Regions from separate parts of the Homo sapiens genome. Here regions 2, 3, 4 and 5 are each linked to region 1. The links are contacts of gene promoters, found by promoter capture Hi-C in blood cells and fetal thymus (Javierre and others, 2016). All regions are on one chromosome and are shown on one strand. Each heading gives the region's core, a stretch centred on a gene start or on the middle of the fragment in contact. The rest is flanking DNA. Distances are from core to core; before and after follow the strand shown.

Region 1 (2,814 bases), core at 185-2,684:
ATGAAACTTTACAAAAACGAAACAAGTTTGACATCAGAGAGGTGACTAACCCAAAGAAATGGCTAGTTATTAAGAACGGGAAAGGCAGAGACCACTCACTGTTAAGCCTCTTTCTCAATACTGAATTATTTTTAGAGTCATTTTTTCCTAGTCAGAAATTGCCAGTTTTGTCTGCAGTGCTCACTTCACTTAGGTTTTGTGGCTAACAAACCTGCCCCATCCAGCAATATTTAAAATTATTACTGACCCAAACTCAGATGAAGTTAAGCAAACTGGCTAAAGACGAAGGAAGTTTGTCTCCTAAACCTCGCCAGAACATGAATGTCCTGAAGTTTGGGGAATCAAAAACGGAATGTGCTTACCACAGTTCAAACAAAAAAACAAACAAAAACGGACTCTCCCAGAGTAAGAAAACATTACAAGAACGTCCATCCAGTGCCTGCCCTCCCGACTGCAAAGCCAGCCTCTTTCCTTTCCTGTGGTTTCTGAAACGGCCAGGATACCGCCTGGTATTTCTTGCTACCAAACACCACGCAATCTGACTTTTTCCAGCAAGACCGGTCCCTTCCTCAGCACACCGGTGACACAAACTTGGAAGCACCGTCCCTCAAAAATCCCCTAGATTCTGCTCTATCCCATCTAACTCTAAAGCCCAAATCTACGTTTTCCTGAAAGAAAGTGTGAAATAAATAAAATAGGGGTCTCATCAAATCCAGTGGGCTCCGCCTCAGAGCCGCCTCAAAAGAGCCGTCACCACACCCCCAATGGGTGAGGCTCAGCCGATGAGGCAAGAGGCGGGTCCAGGAAACCACGTGTTCTGCCTTCTGCGCACGCGCCAGCCAAAACAAAAGGGAGGTCTGCCAAGCCCCACCCCCCACGTGACCGGCGTCCAGGTCCGCCCCCACCCCTCCCTAGACCCCTTCCCTCCCCAGCTGCCAAGGCTGTTAGGTTTAGCCGTTTAAATTTGGCTGCGGTCAGACCCCCGCCCTAGAGCGCGATCCCGTGCCGAGACCAGAGTCCAGCAGCCCAGAGGATTCGGGGGGCGAAGGGGCTGCCGGTCGGTCGCCTGACCCGCAAGTCCACCCGGCAGTCTTCTCCCCTCCCCGCGCTGCCGCCGTCCCCAAGAGGGAAGACCCACCCCCGTCATCCCGCCGCTGAGACGCCGGCCACTCGCCTGCTGGGGCGCCCTGGCTCCCCTCCGCCGCCGCACCTTCGGTCCGGCCGTGGTGGGGGCTGCTGAGGTGATCTCTAGCTGCCCGCCCGCCTCCCCCACCCGGGGCGCCGCTGACTCGTCTCCAGAGCGCGCCCCGCTCCCGCCCCGGCCGCCGCCGCCGCCGCCGCCGCCGCCGCCGCCGCCGCCGCCGCCGCGGTTTAACAGTCCGCCCGCTGCCCGCAGCTCCGTGCGGCTCGGGGGGACGGAACCCTGCCGCGGTCTGGGAGCAGTGGGCGGGGCCCGGCGCTAGCCAATGGCAACGGGGGAGGGGCAGCGCCATGCAAATGAAGCGGGTGGCGGGGAAACCCCGGCAGGGGGCGGGGCCTGCAGAAGCGGCTCGGAGTGTTCTGGAAGTGGCAGGAGCACGACTCCCTTAACTCTGGTGCAGGGTTTACCTCGGCTCCCTCGGGACGGGTTCCGTGCAGCTCCTGCTTCCTCCCTTCTCTTTCCCAGTGCCATCCCTGGCGAGGGGGAAAAAAAAAAACACGGCCAGGAGACTTCCCACCCCTGCTTTGCTATTTTTGTACCTCCGTGACAGAAAAACAAAACCCTGAGGAAAAGTCAGGCGACTTCATTCCCTGCCGTCCGCGCCGGGGCCTCGACTACTGCTGGCGTCCGCGGCTTTCGCCCGCCGCTCCACAGGCGAGTTTTAAGAGATTTCTCACAATTGTCAAGTCCGCAAGTCTCCGTGCGTTTGCTTTTATTTGGGCCGTGCGTTCAAATGCGCTCATAATTCTTTCTGACCCTCAGAGGGGCCCTGAAGTAGGTGACAAATTTGCCTTGGATCCAACTGGGTGGTTTTATGATTAAAAAAAAAAAAACAGACAAAGCAGTTTTAAGTCTCTACAAATCTGGTTTGAGTGGCGCTGGACCTAACTCCCCTCTGCAGTAACGCTGTCAAATAAACAAACGGAGTTTATGTGGAGATAGTTGGCCAGCGACACCCAAAAACACTTCTGAGCGTCTTGCACCTGGCCCCGCGAACCGCTCACCACAAAACAAACCTGCACCTGGGCACTTCCCCAGCCAAGAACTCGATTTTTTTAAAACTGAACTCTAAATGTAGCTTCTTAGATGTTGTATCACAGTCTTTCCTAAGCACCGAATTTACACATGAAATGATTTAAGGAACGAAGAGCACTAGGCTTTTTAAGCCAGAAGGATAATAGCCATTATTTTAACCTTATCAATTGGATAAGATCCCGGGGGCGGAAGAGGGGAGAAATCCAAGGAATTGCAGTCATAACAAAGCGTAATCCGTAACATAGATAACTGGAATTGGAAAATTAGCTACTCGTTCCTGGTTCTTCTAGTAGATTGTGATATTACTGAAATAATTTTTATGACCAGCTGCATTTATTGGAGCTATATTTTTTTAATTACTGAATAATTGCACCTCGATATGGGGCAAGGGAAGAATTTTAGGAAATTGATTTACTTTCATTGTAATAAAAATTGTAAGCTAATGATGTGTTGTGAAAAATAATTAAATCAGTAAGTATTTATTGGATATTTACCATATTCAAAGGACTGTCCTAGTCCCTGGGGACAGAAATGCAAAAATGAATAAAGTATTTTTTAAAGTTTTGTTTTTTTAATTA
Region 2 (2,814 bases), core at 222-2,721, 2.6 Mb before region 1:
AAGTCCATAAGAAAACAGTAGGGTACCTGGAGTACCAGGAAGGACAACTCTTTCTTTACAAGAGAAGTGAGTCATGGGCGGAGTCCAGAATCGAACCCTCTCTGCTTCCTAAAGACACGTCTCCTTTAAAGGACAGAAAAAGAATGATTAAGACTTGAGGCCGGGCGCGGTGGCTCATACGTGTAACCCCACCACTTTAGGAGGCCGAGGCGGGTGGATTACCTGAGGTCAGGAGTTCCATACCAGCCTGGCCAACATGGTGAAACCCCGTCTCTACTAACAACACAAAAATTAGCCAGGTGTGGTGGCAGGTGCCTGTAATCCCAGCTACTAGGGAGGCTGAGGCAGGAGAATCGCTCGAAACCGGGAGGCGGAGGTTGCAGTGAGCCGAGATCGTGCCACTGCACTCCAGCCTGGGCGACAAGGGCTAGACTCCGTCTCATTAAAAAAAAAAAAAAAAAAAAAAAGACTTGAAACCCCAAGGAGAGGGCTGCAGAGTTCACTATCAAGGAGAATGGGGACCTAGTGGTGCCGTCCTGAGAGACCTCTGAAAGAACAATTCAGTAGTTTCCAGCCACGGAAGTCCCCCTGCTGGGTTTAGGGTGCAGTGGGTGCGAATCCCTGCTGTAGAAAACAGGCTGAGGAAAGAAAGCGACACAGGATGTTGTCTGGAGAAAGGCGGGGAGGTAGGATGGGGCATATTTCCAGGGGTCCGGGCAGGTTGTGTGGCTTGGAGGCCTCCGAGGGCCGTCGACGTCAGCCATGGTCCGGGCAGAGCCCCGCAAGGTGCCACAGTATCGGGGCCAGCGCCCCCCGGAAAAGCATGCTCCGCTGGCGGCCGCCAGGTTTCTCCGCGGAGTCTCGGAAAGGAAAACCCGTCCCCACGGGGGTCCCACGACGCCCCCGGGTCCCAGGCCCCGGGACGTTGGCAGAGGCGCAGCAGACCTTCTTCCCCAGCCCGCACGGCTCCAGCGGTCCGGCCGCGTCCCAGCCCGGGCTGCCCGTCCCCCGTCTCCCGGCGGCGTCGGAAAGTTCCCGGGGCTGGCGGCGGTCAAGAGCAGAGCCAGGGCAGCCGCAGCCGCCTTCTAGCCCGCCGCTCACCGCCGCAGGGGCAGGCCTGAGCGGGGGTTTCCACCAAGTCGCCGACACCCCTCGGGAATTCCCCCACTGGGCCACACACAAACCCCGCTTCCTCCTTCAAATTTCCGCTGCCGGCTTTACCGATGCGAAAGCCGCGGTGGAGTTTAGACCACTCCTCCCGGCGCCGGGCTCAGCCCGCCTTCGCCTTCCCTCTCCCCGCGGAACCCCTTCTCGTCGCCCGAAGAAACCCGAAGGTCTTCGGCAAGTTCCGTCCCCAGCGCGGGGGCGGGGCCGCTCGAGCTGCTCCGGGCCTAGCTCGGCTGTTTCCGTGCGCGGCCGCTGCGCACTCGGCACTGGGCGGCGCTGGCTGGCTCCCTGGCTGCGGCTCCTCAGTCGGCGGCGGCTGCTGCTGCCTGTGGCCCGGGCGGCTGGGAGAAGCGGAGTGTTGGTGAGTGACGCGGCGGAGGTGTAGTTTGACGCGGTGTGTTACGTGGGGGAGAGAATAAAACTCCAGCGAGATCCGGGCCGTGAACGAAAGCAGTGACGGAGGAGCTTGTACCACCGGTAAGAGGAGCAGGAGGAGGAGGCAGGAGCCAGAGAGAGCCGGGGGGACGGAGGGGGGACGGGGAGGCGCCGGACACCCGCGCTTGGGGCCTTCCCCTCGCAGGAGGGGCCGCGGTAAAGATGGAGCCTCCGCCCGAGCCCCACAACATCGCCGCCGCTCGCAGCGAACAAAGAATAATGGCGGCGGACTGGAGCCAGCGGCGGCCGGGGCGGCAGCGACTCTGCCTGCAGCCAGCGGCGGCGCTCATGGCGGGGGGCGGCGGGCGGCGGGCGGCGGGCGGGGTGGGAGCCGGCGGCCGGGGGTGTGTGCGGGCGGCCGGCCGCGGCGAGCTGGCGCCCGCGTTCCCGCCGCCGCCGCCGGGCCGGGCGCGGAGCCGGGAACCCGGAGCCGCCCCGGGGGAGGCCGCCCGCTCGGCCCGGCGCTGCCCCCCGCGCCGCTCGCTCGTCCGGCCCCCGCCGCCCGCCTCGCCCCCGGCCCGACCCGGCCGGGCCTCCGGGGCAGCCGCCGCCTAGGTGCCGGTGGGGGATGGAGGAGGAAGAAGGCGACAGTTGAGGGCAGAGGAGGTGAAGGTGCCTGCTGCCTTCCCGGTGGCTTCGGTGCCTGCCATGCCCGCTTCGCAAGGGGAAGAGCTGCAACGTCTGACCTACTCTTCTCTCCACTCTTTGTGCAATAAAGTTCGAAACCCAAGGTTTCCTCTCGTGCTGTATTTTATTCGTGCCCTTTCCCCCCCGCTCCTACACCGTTGAGGAAATGCTGCTTTCTGCCCTGTGTTGCTTAGTTGAGAGATGAGAGCTTGTGCTTTTGGGGGGAATTTTTGACTCCCTCACCCCTTTGCTTTTTTTTTTTTTTTAAAGTCAGTCATGGAAATGCATGCTTTTTGGGAGAAAGGGTGCTAAGAAAAACATTTATAATAACTTTTTAAACTGTTGGGATCTTATAAAAGGGAAGCTGGTGTTTGAAAACAGTTTCGGTTTTAACCCTTTTTAATAAGGTAATCATCACTTGAGATCTATCATTCTGAAACACTTCGTTGGAACGAGTATCAGCCGATGTACTCTTGTTTTACATCATTTCGCGGGGTGCAACCTTGCCAACCGCGTTTGGGTCATCTGGATCTCCCCTCACCCTCCGTCCCACTCCCCCTACCATATTTCCCACGAATTTCTGTG
Region 3 (2,814 bases), core at 118-2,617, 2.5 Mb before region 1:
ACTTTTAAAATTGAAGCGGTAATAGTTGCACTACTCTGTGAATATACTGTATTTTTAAAACCGCACTGAATTGTGCACTTTAAATAGGTAAAGTGTATGCTATGTGAATTATATCTCAATAAAGCTGTTCTAAAAAAAATAAAAAATAAAAGCCAGTCTTGCAAGTGTGAACGTTTTCAGAGGTCCCCCAGGGCTTACTTACCGCATCCCAAACCACCGCTGCGACTCCCAGGTGTCTCCAGTCCTGCCGGATCTGGATCGTGTGGTTTGCAAAGGAAAAAGTTGCAAGAGGCTTGTGGAATTTCTGCAACCCAAATTCCGTGGTCTCCTCATAGGGCACGAGGGCCATTCCGCCTGCACCCCGCCCTCTGCTCAGACCTGCCGTGCAAAAGAATCCTGGGTGACGCTCTGGCCAAAAGATACATTATCTGTTCTTAACTAACTCCAAATGCTTTTAAGGTCGTTTACAAGTTCAAAAGAAAAAAAGAAACAGGTGGAGGAAGCCTTTGTCCAATTTCTTTTGCATGGCTCTTCCGAATCTGAGTGAGATTTGGCTCGGAATTTGTGTCAACGGATGTGTTTGGGGAAGAAGAAAAAAAAAGCCCAGAACATTCCAACTTCCGCAGAATACCCTATACACTGCACTGCTACCACTCCGTGAATTCAGAACTACACAAGCGGCGGAAGCGGCGGTGATCGCCCAGGGCCCCAGAGCAGCGCGGAAAGCAGCGCTTCCAACCCAGACCCGGGCGCCCGGACTGCAGCTGCAGCCAGCCGGGCGGCCCGGGTTCTTTCGCTACGGTTTCGCTACCCACCTCCCCTCCTCCATCGGCTGCTTCGATAGTGATAACAATGGGACAGAACCTGCCCTTAGACTGGGTGTTAGCGGTTTGATAAACCAGAAATACATGGTCGCCGCAGTTCCGTCTCCCCGACCCTGGAAGTGAGCGACACTGGGGGCCTCCAAGCGGCTCGCGGGGACAGCGGGGACTCGGAGGCCTCCCCGAACTCCCCCTATAGCTGCCCCCCACTCACCCCTCTCCCGGGACGACCAGTGCGCCCTTCCTGCCCGGGGGCCCCGGAGCTGCGGCAACCCTCCAGGGGTGAGAGGGAGACCAGGCGAGGGGGGTCACAGGGCCTCTTAGGATCCCCAGGCCATACGGGGCGCCGTGAGCTGCCCGGCGGAGCACCCAGGGCTCGCCCAGGCCGGGCTGAGGCGCCGCCACGCCGGTACTTACGGCCCGGGAGGCGGTCCCGCGTGGAGCGCGCGCTCCGCTTTCCCCGCCCCGGGCTGGCTGCGAAAACCGCCGGCCTTAAAGAGCCCGCGACGCGGGGGCGGGCGGCCCCGGCCCGGAGCCACGCATTTCCGGTCTCCCGGCACCCAGCCTCCGGCAGGTGCCCCCGGAGCTCACGGCGAGGGCGGGGCCGGGCCGTGGCGCGGTGGAGGAGTGACGTTGCGGGAGGGGGGACCGGGGCTTTCCCTCGTGCGTCCCCAGGGTACACGGACGACTTAATCCGTTTCCCCCGCCGCCGAGGGAGGCGCTGTGGGGGCGGGAGCAAGAGTGAGATCGGGGTGCCGAACTGCCGCGGGTGCACAGGGAGAGCATGGGGTGCCCTGGGCTCTCCTAGCGGGAGAGAAAAGCCACCCACCTGGCGCTGAATGTGCCTCTCGACCTTTTCTATCATGTGCTCCGCCGCTCTCTGCCTCTGACTTTGTCGCTTGCGCGTTGTGCCTGTTTTTTAAAGGTGGCGCGTTAGCGGATGATGGAGACAGCTCGCTCCGAAGAAGGCATGGTCACTCTAGTCCCCGCGTCTCCACGGTGGGGTCAGAAGCGGCGTAATAGCCCGCTTGGCGGCAATCGAGTGGAAAAGTCACAAAACCCTTTTCAACTAAAGCACAGTGGGGGAAGTGAACACGTGGCGCCCGAGTCCAAGTTTTTAAAGTGGGGCGGGGGTCGGCGGGCTCTGGCTGCAGTCGGAAGCGCGGAGCTCTGGGCGTGCGCTCGGCTCCAGCCCCGGCCCCAGGCGGCGCTGCAGACTCCAGTGCCCCAGTCTCCCTCCTCCCGATGCCAAGACGCACCTGCCCGTGAGGACCCACGCTGGACGTGGAAGGTGCCGAGGGCCTGGTACCCTGGCCGCAGGCCCTGGCAGAGCGCGCGGCTGGAGTGGGTCCATTGAGTGGGACCGTGCGGGGACCGGCATCCTCCCGGGGCAGGCTTCTTTTTCCTCCTGGGGCCCCTCGCCCCACACCGCCCGCTGCGCTCTCAGCGCGGCTGCACGTTAGAACCAGCTGGGGTAAACCTCCCTTACCAGTCCCCCGCCCCAAGAGCTGGCCATGGGAGGGGGCCCGAGCGCTGATTTTTTTGTTTGGTTTTTTGCTTTTGTTTTTGTTTTTGTTTTTGTTTTGAGACGGAGTCTCTCTCTGTCGCCCAGGCTGGAGTGCAAGGGCGCGAACTCGGCTCACTGCAGTCTCCGCCTTCCGGGTTCAAGCGATTCTCCTGCCTCATTCTCCCGTGTAGCTAGGATTACAGGCCTGCGCCAGCACGCCAGCTAATTTTTGTGGGATTTTGTTTGTTTGTTTGAGACGGAGTCTTGCTCTGTCGCCAGGCTGGAGTGCAGTGGCGCGATCTCGGCTCACTGCAGCCTCCACCTCCCGGGTTCAAGCAGTTCTCCTGCCTCAGCCTCCAAAGTAGCTGGAATTACAGGCGCCCGCCGCCACACCCGGCTTTTTTTGTGTTTTTAGTAGAGACGGGGCTTCACCATGTTGGCCAGGCTGGCCTTGAACTCCTGATCTCCGGTGATCCGCTCATCTCA
Region 4 (2,814 bases), core at 202-2,701, 2.5 Mb before region 1:
AAAAAAAAACAAAAAAAAAACAATCCCATTTTGCAGGTTTTATAGAAGAAATTGGGACGCAGAAGTTAAGTTACTTCCGCAAGCTTACATGACTGCTCAGGGTGAGGGTCCCTGATCATGATGATCAGAAAATAAAGGTAGAAATCAAGCTTAGGGAGGAAGTGACATTGTGTGTATATATATATATTTGTTTATTTATTTTTATTTTTATGTTTTATTTTTTTGAAACGGAGCCTAGGTCGCCCAGGCTGGAGTGCAATGGCGCGATCTCGGCTTACGGCAACCTCTGCCTCCCGGGTTCAAGTGATTCTCCTGCCTCAGCCTCCCGAGTAGCTGGGAATACGGGCGCGTGCCACCATGCCCGGCTAATTTTTTGTATTTTTAGTAGAGACGGGATTTCACCGTGTTAGCCAGGATGGTCTGGATCTCCTGACCTGGTGATCCGCCCGCCTCGGCCTCCCAAAGTGTTGGGATTACAGGCATGAGCCACCGCGCCCGGCCGGGATTGTTTTTAAGGGTTAAATAAATATACCACAGTTGGAACACTGTCTGGCACATAGTGCTTGCCAAATGGTAACTATTCATCTTCATGGAATCAAGACTGTGGTGCCCCACTGCATGGTTCTCAGTTTTGCGTGAGAAAATCGTGCTTTCTGTGCTGTTTTTAGTACAAGAAGAGAAACCTGGAAGTCCCTGCCTAGAGGAGAGAAACAGGCAAGAAAAGGGAGTTGGCGAGTCCCAGCATTTCAGAGTTGGCAGGGACGAGTTAGGTCCCTATTTTATGGATGAGGAAGTGGAAGGGTGACGTGTCCTCGAGTCTCATTCAAGACCCACAGCCACAACTCTTTATGGAGAGTAGGACCAGGGCCCCAGGGTTGCTATGATCACGTTGCAGGTGAAAACTAACGCTCATTGGAAGACAGGAGCGGAGCACTGAGTTACAAAAACAGTTAACAATTTGGGTGTAACCAAGTTTAGTGAGCAAACGAAAGCTGTCAGACTCGGAAGAAGAGTTGCTAATGGAGCGAACTCTTTACTAATAACGGCTTTCTACAGAGATCATTGACACAGCTTCCAGTTACAAATGCCCGTGCGCTTCCAGTAGGACCGGAAAGCTCCCAGCAGCCAGCGATGAATGAAAACCCGAGTCTGGGATAGCGGCGTGAGGGGCTGGGCAGCTGCCAGGCGGGGGCGGGGCAGCAGGTCACGTGCCTGGCTTCGAGGCGGGCGCCGGAGGGGGAACTCTGACCATGATTGGTTCCTCCTAACCAGGTGACCGCAGGTCGCGTTCCGGTTGGCAGGCACCGGCCAGGGCCAGCGGCCTTCAGTCGGTAGGCGGCGGCGGAAGGAGGAGGAGCTCCAGCCGCGCTCTCTCCCGGCAGTGGCTGTGCTTCACAGCGCTTGTTGGGTTCCCCACCCCTTTTAAATAAGCCGGGCTGGTCACCGCCCTCGCAGACGAGTCAGCTTAAGGGAGGCGGCGGCAGCGCGGCGGTGGGGGTGCGGCCGAGGCCCGAGCCCTGCCCGGGGCCGGGCCGCGGGGCGGGCGGGCGAACCGCGGGCGAGGCGGCGTCTGCTTGCGCGGTGCAGCCCCAGCGTAGCCCGGGGCTGCCGGTGCCGGCCGCGCCATTGTTGGGGGAGGGGGCGGCTGTTGAGGGCGGCGGAGTAGGGGGCGAGCGAAGGCGGTGGCAGAGAGGAGCGGAGGCTTCCCATGGGGAACACGCTGACCTGTTGCGTGTCCCCCAATGCCAGCCCCAAGCTGGGCCGGCGCGCGGGGTCGGCGGAGCTGTACTGCGCGTCCGACATCTACGAGGCGGTGTCCGGGGACGCGGTGGCGGTAGCGCCCGCTGTGGTGGAGCCTGCCGAGTTGGATTTCGGAGAGGGCGAGGGCCACCACCTGCAGCACATCAGCGACCGCGAGATGCCCGAAGGTAAGGAGGCGGCGGATGCCATCCGCCCTCGGGCTCACCTCTGCCCGCCTCCTCCCCCAGAGTCCCCCGGGAGGCATCCGCCGCCTCGGGCTCCTTCCTGCCGGTAGCCGGCCCCGGGACGAAGGCTGGTTCTGCCTCGCGTCCCCACCCCTTATTCTTGCCCTGCTGCGTCTGGCCAGTTTCTTTTCCTCCTCCTTACCGTAACGCCCAGTTCTTGCTCCCGCTTCCCATTCTCCCAAGCCGGCGTGGGACCCTCTAGTCCGCCGCCCTTCTTGTTTGTAGCTCTGTTCATTGTCTGGTGGGACTTTGCTAAGACTTTTGGGGTATATTGTTTTCCTTTTCTCAATGGAAACTCAAATACCTCAACTTCGGAGTACTCATCCCATTCCCTCCCTTAACCCATCCAGATGGTACCTAAGTGAAGGAACCAGGTAAGGGTCTGATTGTTCCTTCCTCCCATCCGTGAAGATAGCTGATGCCCGCGACAGTTTAGACCCAGATGTTTGAGGATTTCTTATCTAGACTCAAAATAGAGGTTGCCATAGGAGACACTATATGGTATTCCTAATAGGTTAAGTCGGCGTGAAAGAAGCTGCTTTATTCCTTCCAACTATAATTTGAACACAGAAAGAAAGAAAATGGGGGGAGGGGCGTAAAATGACTGTGAAGGGTGTGAGAGGTTATTACCAGGGGTGCAGACAAGTTGTTTTTTTGAGACGGAATCTCGTTTTGTCGCCCGCCCAGGCTGGAGTGCAGTGGCGCGATCTCGGCTCGCTGCAACCTCCGCCTCTCGGTTTCAAGCGATTCCTCTGCCTCAGCCTCCCGAGTAGCTGGGATTACAGGCGTGCGCCACCACGCCCAGCTAATTTTTGAATTTTTAGTAGAG
Region 5 (2,814 bases), core at 1-2,500, 2.4 Mb before region 1:
GGACGCGGCGGCCGCCCGGCCCACCAGCTGCGCTAGGAGCAGCAGCAACAGCGAGGGCGGCGCGGATGGGTCAGGCCGAGCCATCGCCCCCTCCCTCCCCTCGCCTCCAGCAGCCCGCGAGGGACGCACACAGGCAGAGGAATCCGGGCCGGGGCTTCTCCCTCCGGCGTCTCGTGTGTGGCGCCGGGGCTGGCAACCTGTTGGTTGCTTTTTCCTTTAAAGAAAACCGTCCAAAGATAAACTGCTTCGGGAAGGCGCTGCCTCCGCTGGCAGCGCTCCGCTCCTCGCCGGATAGGGCTGGGGAGAGACGGTTAGGGCTCGGATTCCAGGGAAAGGACTCTTTAAAAAAGAAGGGGGAGAAGAAAGATTGCAACCACTCCCTGTTGGAGAGGCGTCAACAGTTCGGTCCCCGCGAGCTGTCTCCAAATCTCTTAAGTTAACCCCTTTCCTTTCCTCCCCGCTCCGCCTCCTGTAACCAAACTACCGACTCCCCCACCCTCTCTTTCCAAGCTGGGCCCTTCAGGCAGTGCCCGGAGACCAGAACCCTCAGCTTCCCGGAAAAGGGCACAGGAAACGGGAGAAGAACAGGGAGAAAGGGAAGGTTCTCACCTCCACGGATCCCGCCGAGAAGAGCAGACAGTCCCCAGCCAGCCTGGGTCCTCCGTCCCTGGGTCACTCCGCTGAGAAGCGCGACTCAGAGCCGGGCTGGCGCCCGGAAAGTTTAGCGACAGGCTGGGTACCCGTGGCAGCGGCACATGGCAGCAGGTGGGGGCGACTCAGAGTGGGGGGCGCCCCCAGAACAGGGGCGGCGCAGGCCGGTCACTCGCCCTCTCCTCCTCGGGAGCCCCCCGCATGATCCAGACGGAGCCGGGCAGGGGCAGGCCGTGCGTTCTCCCCGGGGCCGGGAGCCGGACGGAGGGCGAGCGCGCCTGGCAGCACCTGGGCGGGAGGAAGGCGGGAGGCGGGGGCCGTGGGACCCCGCCGCCTCACAGCACCGCGAGCAGCCGGCGCTGGCCAGGCCGGGACTGCATGGTGAGCGCCGGCCGCCGCGTCCCGCCCGCCGCTCGCCTCCTCCCCTGCAGGGGGCTCCGCGCTCCAGTGGACTCCTGGGGGCGGTGGCGACGCTCTCGGGACGTGCCCTGCTCGGCTCCTCCCCCGCGCTCTCGCACCCTTTCGCCCACCTCTGGCGAGCACGGAACCGCGCGCGGCGGCGACCACAGCGGACTCACGGCCGCAGGCTGGCTGCCCTCTCCCGCCCCGCCCGGGTCACCTGCTTCTAATGCCCGCCGGGAAGCCCCGCCCCGGCTCCGCCCCCTCAGGCCCGGGCGCGGTTGGTGGGCCGCCTCGCCAAGCTCTCCGCGCGTCCCCGCCCACTGCCCCGCGGGCTCGGCCTTTCCCCCGGCGCCCTCTGGCCCCGCCAGGAGCGGGCAGCCAAGGAGCGCTGACCAATCGCGGGCCTGGAGGAGATGGGGGCGGGGCGAATGCTAATCATGCCGCTCTGGGCACCCGGGCGGGAAGCCCTTGCCAGAAGTCCCTCCGGAGTTCTCTGCCCGCGCCCTGGGTGCAGGACTCGCTCCTGTAACTTCCTGGCTTATGCACCTTTGCTCCCAGGGCCCCTGCCCTTTCTGCCTGCAGCTAAGCGTCCTTACAGAGTTCAGTGCTTCTTTGAAAGAACTGCTCAAGGAATCACTCTTAGGCGTGGCTGTCTCCCTTCCGAGCTGTCTTGGAACTGTGTGAAAGAAGAGAGGATACTTACTGAGCCCTTTACTGTGTGCCCAACAAAGTGTTAATCGGTTACATCCTTTTTTTTTTTTTTTTTTTTTGAGACGAGTTGTTCTGTCTCCCAGGCTGGAGTGCAGTGGCGCGATCTCGGCTCACTGCAACCTCTGTCTCCCGGGTTCAAGCGATTATCCTGCCTCAGCCTCCTGCGTAGCTGGGATTACTGGCGCCCGCCACCACGCCCAGCTAATTTTTGTATTTTTGGTAGAGACGGGCTTTCACCATGTAAGGCTGTTCTCGAACTCCTGACACCGTGATCTGCCCGCCTCGGCCTCCCAAAATGCTGGGATTACAGGTGTGAGCCACCGCGCCCGGCCCGTTTACATCTTAAGACAAGATCTCACTCCTTACAACAATTCTGAGGCAGGTACTTCCTACAGGTGAAGAAACCGAGACTGAGACTTGGCCAAGGCAACCGAGCTAATCATAGTTCCCCCAAGAAAGGGCGACCTCGGCAAGCAAGTTCACCTCCGTATTCCGATCACCTGGCACATAGTAGCCGCCCAAATGGCAACCCTGGGATTCGAACCCAGGTAGTTGGTCAGCGGCACTCACCATCGTAGCCGCCCCTCCCCCCATACTATCGCAGCCTCCCTGGCTTCGACCTTTACTTTTGCATCTCTTAACAAAATCTTGTTGTGACAAGAAAATGGATTTCTTTCTGCCTTTAGAAGACCCAGAAAGATGTGAGTCCTTTATTGGTCGAGGTTTATAATCCCAGGCAGTTCCGAAGTCGCCCGCAGAGAGAAGCGATACCGACCCAGGGTTCTGTGCTGGGCAGGGCGCCGGCCTCCCCGTGCCCTTCCGTCCCCGGCTGCCTGCTGCTAAGCCGCGCACTTGCGCGCCGCGGGGGGTCGGAGGGCGCACCGATGGCGGGGACACGGCGGCGCTCTTCAGTTGCGCAATTATGCTACAAGTTTTAAATGTCCTAAAAATGCCTCTTTTCTATGTGTTGTAATTAGATTGGAAGACTGAGGTATTTAGCATACTTGAAATACATTCACACGCCTAGGAAGAGGGTTTAAATTTTTTCCT

What was found. The method cuts DNA at HindIII sites, captures the fragments that hold promoters and counts their contacts. A CHiCAGO score of 5 or more calls a contact.
Region 2: the fragment with the promoter of CREB1 here is called in contact with the fragment with the promoter of KANSL1L in region 1 in 4 of 17 cell types (neutrophils, monocytes, total CD8 T cells and 1 more); the score reaches 11.2 in neutrophils.
Region 3: the fragment with the promoter of METTL21A here is called in contact with the fragment with the promoter of KANSL1L in region 1 in 3 of 17 cell types (monocytes, fetal thymus and neutrophils); the score reaches 6.7 in monocytes.
Region 4: a contact is called between the fragment with the promoter of CCNYL1 here and the fragment with the promoter of KANSL1L in region 1, in 1 of 17 cell types (neutrophils). The highest score is 8.7, in neutrophils.
Region 5: a contact is called between the fragment with the promoter of FZD5 here and the fragment with the promoter of KANSL1L in region 1, in 1 of 17 cell types (neutrophils). The highest score is 17.7, in neutrophils.

Annotation. Positions count from the first base shown.
Region 1 is chr2:210,169,975-210,172,788 of GRCh38, forward strand. KANSL1L (KAT8 regulatory NSL complex subunit 1 like) reads right to left here and starts at 1,435. Exons shown (of 15, transcript NM_152519.4): 1 at 1,175-1,435. RefSeq lists enhancers at 460-1,094, 522-701, 1,095-1,730, 1,731-2,364 and silencers at 892-1,201, 1,322-1,651. The HindIII fragment of the contact is 7,802 bases long and covers 1-2,814 here.
Region 2 is chr2:207,528,491-207,531,304 of GRCh38, forward strand. CREB1 (cAMP responsive element binding protein 1) reads left to right here and starts at 1,472. Exons shown (of 8, transcript NM_004379.5): 1 at 1,472-1,644. It overlaps LOC124907970 (a long non-coding RNA gene), which reads right to left and starts at 1,107. Exons shown (of 3, transcript XR_007088060.1): 1 at 946-1,107; 2 at 27-123. RefSeq lists silencers at 841-1,020, 1,691-1,820, 1,851-1,900, 2,611-2,780 and enhancers at 1,041-1,240, 1,501-1,600. The HindIII fragment of the contact is 5,804 bases long and covers 1-2,814 here.
Region 3 is chr2:207,624,027-207,626,840 of GRCh38, forward strand. METTL21A (methyltransferase 21A, HSPA lysine) reads right to left here and starts at 1,368. Exons shown (of 4, transcript NM_001127395.5): 1 at 1,036-1,368; 2 at 203-378. The coding sequence starts at 349. RefSeq lists a silencer at 964-1,563 and enhancers at 1,834-2,538, 2,539-2,814. The HindIII fragment of the contact is 10,824 bases long and covers 1-2,814 here.
Region 4 is chr2:207,710,189-207,713,002 of GRCh38, forward strand. It overlaps CCNYL1 (cyclin Y like 1), which reads left to right and starts at 1,452. Exons shown (of 10, transcript NM_001330218.2): 1 at 1,452-1,928. The coding sequence starts at 1,709. RefSeq lists enhancers at 644-843, 854-903, 1,256-2,252 and silencers at 1,124-1,573, 1,994-2,103, 2,116-2,275. The HindIII fragment of the contact is 3,390 bases long and covers 148-2,814 here.
Region 5 is chr2:207,768,656-207,771,469 of GRCh38, forward strand. FZD5 (frizzled class receptor 5) reads right to left here and starts at 1,251. Exons shown (of 2, transcript NM_003468.4): 1 at 610-1,251; 2 at 1-339. The coding sequence starts at 84. RefSeq lists silencers at 2-61, 472-531, 872-1,551 and enhancers at 2,102-2,151, 2,316-2,814. The HindIII fragment of the contact is 9,976 bases long and covers 1-2,814 here.